Linked DNA regions of Homo sapiens: region 2 is linked to region 1. The links are contacts of gene promoters, found by promoter capture Hi-C in blood cells and fetal thymus (Javierre and others, 2016). All regions are on one chromosome and are shown on one strand. Each heading gives the region's core, a stretch centred on a gene start or on the middle of the fragment in contact. The rest is flanking DNA. Distances are from core to core; before and after follow the strand shown. Region 1 holds the start of ZNF84 (zinc finger protein 84). Region 2 holds the start of ANKLE2 (ankyrin repeat and LEM domain containing 2).

The links. Contacts are between HindIII fragments. The CHiCAGO score rates a contact against its expected background, and 5 or more counts as called.
Region 2: a contact is called between the fragment with the promoter of ANKLE2 here and the fragment with the promoter of ZNF84 in region 1, in 9 of 17 cell types (total CD4 T cells, activated CD4 T cells, monocytes and 6 more). The highest score is 13.3, in total CD4 T cells.

What each region holds. Positions count from the first base shown.
Region 1 is chr12:133,036,167-133,039,580 of GRCh38, reverse strand. It overlaps ZNF84 (zinc finger protein 84), which reads right to left and starts at 2,072. Exons shown (of 5, transcript NM_001289971.2): 1 at 2,036-2,072. It overlaps ZNF84-DT (ZNF84 divergent transcript), which reads left to right and starts at 2,359. Exons shown (of 3, transcript NR_110091.1): 1 at 2,359-2,812. RefSeq lists a silencer at 1,966-2,145 and an enhancer at 2,366-2,455. The HindIII fragment of the contact is 6,122 bases long and covers 1-3,414 here.
Region 2 is chr12:132,760,523-132,763,710 of GRCh38, reverse strand. It overlaps ANKLE2 (ankyrin repeat and LEM domain containing 2), which reads left to right and starts at 1,879. Exons shown (of 13, transcript NM_015114.3): 1 at 1,879-2,093. The coding sequence starts at 1,913. RefSeq lists enhancers at 1,211-1,310, 1,665-2,533 and silencers at 1,461-1,750, 1,841-2,430. The HindIII fragment of the contact is 14,066 bases long and covers 1-3,188 here.

The DNA.
Region 1 (3,414 bases), core at 823-3,322:
TGCACAACCCTATAAGGCGTTTAACATAATCTCCATTTTACAGAGAGAAAACTGGGACAATGAGTGATTGTAAAATGTGCCTGTGATTGCACATTTAGTAAGTAGCAAAATTCAAATGTTAATTCTCTATCCTGCTATGTTCAAAGCATGAATACTAAAGTCATATTGTCATTTGTGCATATCTACATGCACAAACACACACAACATAAATCCTGGAGTCAGCTCCTATTCCCATGCACACATTCAGTCACTAATTCCCACAAAAATATAAATGAAGGACGCCCTGCCTCAACTGTATCACACTAACAAGCAGCACTTTCTTTTTCATGCCTTTTTGTGGTTCAAACTTCAGTGCCAACTCAGAAACACACAGCAGTTTCTCCCAGTTATACAAGAAATGACTCCTTTATACCTTAAATTGTGATAATACATAAATCTTAGAACAAAAGCTGGCACACAGTCATACGAAACATATACTAGCTATAATTATTATTATAAAAGTAATATATGATGGCAAAATATAAAAAACATACACAAGCTAAATAAGAACTATTATCTATGATCTCACCACAGGTAACCATTCTTAGGATGATGGAAACTATTGTGATATTTTTCATACAATGGAAGCATATGGTCATATTTAAAAGCTGTTTTTGTTTTTTTCCCATTATGTGAAGAACATCTTTCCAGGTCAATAACCTTATTTCTGTAAGATATAAACAACTCACATAAAATAACAAAAAAATAAAATCCGACTCATAATTGACAAAATACATAAAATATGTAGGAATATCAAGACCCATATGAAGCATACTAAAAACACCAATGAGAACTATAAAAATAGAATTAAAGAAATTTATAATTCGATTTTATTCTGGGATAGGAAGACTTCAGATTGTGAAGATAATTTGACCTCAAATGATTTATATAACTCATCGACTCCAATCAGAATCTCAAAATTCTAAAGTTTATGTGTAAGAAAAAAGGTTCAAGAACAATTCGGACACTTTTTTTTTTTTTTTGACAGGGTCTTACTGTGTTGTCCAGGCTGAAGTGCAATGGCATAACCATAGCTCACTGCAGCCCTGAACTCCTGGGCTCAAGTGATCCTCCTACCTCAACCTACAGAGTAGCTGGGGCTACAGGCATGCCCTACCACACCGGGCCTGGATGCTTTTGGAAATACAAAATAATGAGTGTGAACAGGCCCACTGTAATACATACAAATTATAATCATTATAACATTTGACACTGGCTCCAGAGAAGTTATACAGATGAAAAAAAGCAAACTGTCTAAATATGCAAGAGTCAGCATGCAATAAATGTAGCATTTCAAAGCCATCAGTAAAATTAAATTATTTAATGAATACAAGAATATTTGAAAGAAAATAAACGTAGCTATTTCATACAACTACTTTCAGTGGGTTAAATTTTAAAATAATGGAAACCCTAAGAATGTCTACAAAAAAAAACCACAGGTGAATGAATATATGTATAATTTGAGGGGAGATTTCGCTACACCATACCAAAAGCAAAAGTCACTTAAAAAATTTAAAACAGTCAATAAATATAACCATTAAAAAATACACGGCCAGGAATGGTGGCTCACACCTGTAACCCCAGCGCTTTAAAAGCCTCCTTCGATAGCGGCAGAGCCAGGCTGCTGGTGGATGCGGTCCAGCAGGGCAGCCGCTCCTTAGGGCCACGGCGCGGCAAGCGGGCTGGCCCGAGGTCGAGGCTAAACGCGCCCGAGGCTAAACGCGCCCGAGGCTGGCGCCTCCACGCCCGCCTGAAAGGACGCCCAGGAGCGGCGCCTCCGGAAAGGCCGTGCCCGCCCCACAGCCCAGAATCCGCGCAGCTCCGCGGCCCACGGCATCTTCACGACCCGGCCCAGCCCCAACCCGCCCCAGACCCGCATCCGCGCGCGGACGCCCAGGGCCTTGAAGCCGAAGCTCCCCGCGGCCACTCCCGCGCGCCTCCCCCGCCATTCCCGGAGCCCCCAGCGCCGGGCCCGCAATAAACTCACTGAACTCACAAAAGACGCCGCCGCCGAGTCGCGCCCGCGCGCCCGCGGCCTCGCGATCACGTGACACCGCCCGTCCCCCGTGTCCCGCGCACGCGCCCAAACCGTCGGCCTTTGTGCGCTCCCGGGCGGCTCCGAACGGGCCGGGACGAGTCGGGGACTGCACACGCGCACACTCGCACGCGCGCACACGCGTACACTCCCCTCTCACGTGGCAGCGAAGGACAAAGAGGAAGAACGGGCCACCTGCAAGCATTACCAAGAGTGCATGTGCGCATGCGCGAAGGAAGGAGCCCCGCGAACTCAACTTCCCACAGTGCCCCGCGTCCGGAAGTGCCTGTCGCTTGGAGACGGAGTGACTCCAAACGGGCTCACACGGTTTTCTGAGAAACATAAAGGGAAACCGAATCCACCAATATATATATATATTTTCTTGAGACGGCGTCTCGCTCTGTCACCCAGGCTGGAGTGCAGTGGCGTGATCTCGGCTCACTGCAAACTCCGCCTCCCGGGTTGACGCCATTCTTCTGCCTCAGCCTCCCGAGTAGCTGGGACTACAGGCGCCCGCCGCCACGCCCGGCTAATTTTTTTGTATTTTAGTAGAGACGGGGAGTCACCGTGTTGCCCAGGCTGGTCGCGAACTCCTGAGCTCAGGCAATCCGCCCGCCTTGGCCTCCCAAAGTGCTAGGATTACAGGCGTGAGCCACCGCGCCCGGCCCACCAATACTCAATTGGTTTGACTTCAGTTGAGGAAACCAGAAAAAATTTAAATATATTTATGGAAAGAAGGTAAGAATTAACAGAAAAAAGTAAAGTTGATCCATAACTGGAGTCGTAGGGAGAATTATAGGTAAGTCACGATGCTTATGACAGCAAGATGGGGCCGGGGAGATGGAGGAGAGAGATGAAAAAAGAGAAATAACCATAGACACATAGGAAATTGAATGAAAATCCGCTCTATACTAATAAATTTGATAATTTGTGACACAAATGATTCTCCAGGACAACATGGGCCAAATTTGACCCAATTTTATCCACAATTTGAAGACAAATTCAGAGATCCTTTGCCAGAAAGCATCATAATGAGTTGCTTAGTGAATTGCTTCAAACATCCAGTGATTAGAGAATTCTTATATTTATTCCCAGAGGTAGAACTCACCAGTGAAGTACTAGCATAAAAACAGACGCATGGACCAATGTGGAACAGCGTAGAAAAACCAGAAATAACCCCATGCATATACAGTCAACTAATCTTAGGCAAGTCAACTAATCTTGTGTCAAGAATACACGATGGGGAAAGGACAGTCGCTTCAATAAATAGCGTGAGGAAACCGGATATCCAAATACTGCTACGCAAAAGACCTCATTGCCCGATGTGCACAGAAGCCAAT
Region 2 (3,188 bases), core at 630-3,129, 280 kb after region 1:
AGAGTCTCGCTCTGTCACCCAGGCTGGAGTGCAGTGGCGCGATCTTGGCTCACTGCAAGCTCCGCCTCCCGGGTTCACACCATTCTCTTGCCTCAGCCTCCCGAGTAGCTGGGACTACAGGTGCCTTCCAGCATGCCCGGCTAATTTTTTGTATTTTTTAGTAGAGACTGGGTTTCACCGTGTTAGCCAGGATGGTCTCGATCTCCTGACCTCGTGATCTGCCCGCCTCGGCCTCCCAAAGTGCTGGGATTACAGGCGTGAGCCACCACGCCCGGCCAAGGGGGGTTAGGGTTTCAACATACGAACGCTGGGGACAGACACTCAGAATACAGCAGAGGTGTACGTTTAACTTTGAAAGAAACTGCCTCACTATTTTCCAAGGTGGTTAACTCAGTGTTTGCTCTTGCCAGCAAAATTTGATATTGCCAATTTTTAAATTTTAGCCATTCTGGTGGATTTCAAGCAGCATCTCATCGTGGTTTGAATTTCCATTTCATCCATCTTCAAAATTACTGACCCTTTCTTCTGTAGTGCCCAACCAACCATTAGTACCATCCAATGATATTTTTTAAGAGATGGGGTCTTGCTATGTTGGTCAGGCTGGCGTGCAGTGGCTATTCACAGGCGAGATCACGCTCATGGCAGCCTCGAACTCCCGGACTGAAACTACCATCACCCCTCACGCTCCAGAGTTGCTGAGACTACAGACCTGAGCCACCTCGCTCAGATCAATTATGTTTTTAACCAAGGATATCAATTATATTTTTCAGGTCTTTCATTTTCATTTAATAATATCTAAATTAGGCGGGGCGCGGTGGCTCACGCCTGTAATCCCAGCACTTTGGGAGGCCGAGGCTGGTGGATCACTTGACATCAAGAATTCGAGACCAGTCTGGCCAACATGAGGAAACCCCGTCTCTACTAAACATGCAAAAATTAGCCAGGCGTGGTGGTGGGCACCTGTAATCCCAGCTACTTGGGAGGCTGAGGCAGGAGAATCGCTTGAGCCCAGGAGGCGGAGGCTGCAGTGAGCCGAGATCGCGCCACTGCACTTCAGCCTGGGCGACAGAGCAAGACACCGCATCAAAAAATAAATAAAACATCTAAATTACATACAGTAAAATCCTCCTTCCCTTTTTCGAGACAGGGTCTCACTATTAGGTTGGTGCAAAAGTAATTGCGGCTTTTACCATGACTTTCAAAATATTTGCCCGGGCTGGTCTCGAGCTCCCGGGCCGTGGGGATCCTCCCGCCTCGCCTCCCAAGGCGCTGGGACTCCGGACGCAGCCGCCGCGCCCGGCAAAATCCGCGCTTTCAACTGCGCGTCAGGGCCCCTTGGTGAAGGAGCGGGAAGCTCCGCCGGTCTCCATAGCGCCGGCGGCCTGTTCTGCGGGTTCGCGGGGGAGTGAGAGGCGCTTCCTCACTCCTGCTCCAGGACGGGACGACGGCCGCAAACAGTACTCGGGCTCGGAGCACACGAACCCGGAGGCCGCTTCGTTCTCGGAGACGCACAGCGCCCCACGGACGCCAGGCCGGGGCCGGGAGGCGCGAAGAAGCGCCGCCCCGCGCCCGGCCCCGCCCTGGTGGCCTCCCCGGGCCCCAGCCCCGGCCCCCGCCAGCACATTGCGCTCCCCGCGCCTCGCCGGTCCCAGGACCCCGCGTCGGGCTGCCCGCGCCCCGCCTGCCGCGCCCGCCCGTCCGCTCGCCCGTTCCCGCCCGCTTGGGTCCCAGGGCCGGGGCCGCGCCCTCGCCGGGCCTCCGCGAGCGGGGCCGCCGTCCGTGTCCCCCGCGCCGCCCCGGCCGCCTCGAGCGCGGCGCCGTCAGGCAGGGCGCGGGCAGCCCGGCGCGGGGTCCTGGGACGGGCGCGGCGCGGGGCGCGGGCTTCTCGGCGGCTGCGGCCCGGGCGGCGGCGATGCTGTGGCCGCGGCTGGCGGCGGCCGAGTGGGCGGCGCTGGCCTGGGAGCTGCTGGGCGCCTCGGTGCTGCTGATCGCTGTGCGGTGGCTGGTGCGGCGGCTGGGCCCGCGGCCGGGAGGTCTGGGCCGCAGCGGGACCCCAGTTCCTCCGCCAAGCGCGGCCGCCGCCCCCGCCTCAGGTAAGGCCCAGGCGGTCGCTGGGTCCCCGCACCCTGGCCCCTTCCCCGCCCCGACGCCCTCCTCGGGCCTGGGGTCCCGGCCGCGCCCCTGGAGCCGGCAGCAGTTGGGCGAGGCGGCCGGGGAAACCAGGGCCGGTCGGGAAAGGCCATTCCGGCCGCGGAAAGGGCAGTTGCGGGGACTTGGCTTCCCGGGCCGGGGGCGGAGGGGCCACGCCGGGTTCGGGGGTGAGAGCTTTCCCGGGCCCTGGAGCAGCCTCCGGGGAAGGCGGCGGGGGCCCGGCGAGGCGTTAGCGGAGACTCTTGCTGCGGTCTCTCGAGACCTGGGGAGGGATGGCCCAAAGGAGGGCGGCGCGGGGAGGAAACCCCTGGGTCCCGGATGTGTTTGGAACGTGAAGCCATTGCGGTTACTGGTCATGGAACATAAGGCAGAGACGGAAAAGGCAAATGTAACTCAGGGGTTTGGGGCCAGAGGAAGAGGGAGAAGGTGGCCATTTATTGCTTTGCGGTAGACTGTCGGGTCTGGGTGATGTGGAGATCAGAGGTGGGTTTTGGTCGTTTTAAGTTTGAGGTAACTGATACAGTGAACTGTGTATTTCAGCTCCATCCCCTTTTCCTGGCATACAACTCTTGAAATCCCGGGAACCTCCAAAGTGATGTCTTTTGTAGGCTGAGTGGACTGGTGGCCGGCAGCCCCTAGGGAGCTTCTGGATGGGGCTGGTCGCAGGAAAGACCAAGGCAGGGTTAGAGGTTCTGGGGACTTTCAGCCCCACCCCCAACCTCTGGGGAGGAGAGAGGGGTGAAGGTTGCGTTGATCACCAGTGGCTGATGAATCACGCCTGTGAAATGAAGTTCCTGTAAAAACCCAAAAGGGCTGGGTTCAGGGAGCTTCCAGATAGTACGTGGGGGTTCCTGGAGGCGGTGCCCAGAGAGGCCCTGAATTTCCAAGCGCTTCCCCCCGGTTTTACGTCACGCATCTCTTCACCTGTATTCTTTGTAATCCTTTATACTCTGCTGGTAAGTGTAAGTAAAACATGTCTGTGAGTTCGGGAGCCACTCTAGCAAATTACCGCAACCTGAGGAGGTCACCGGGTTACG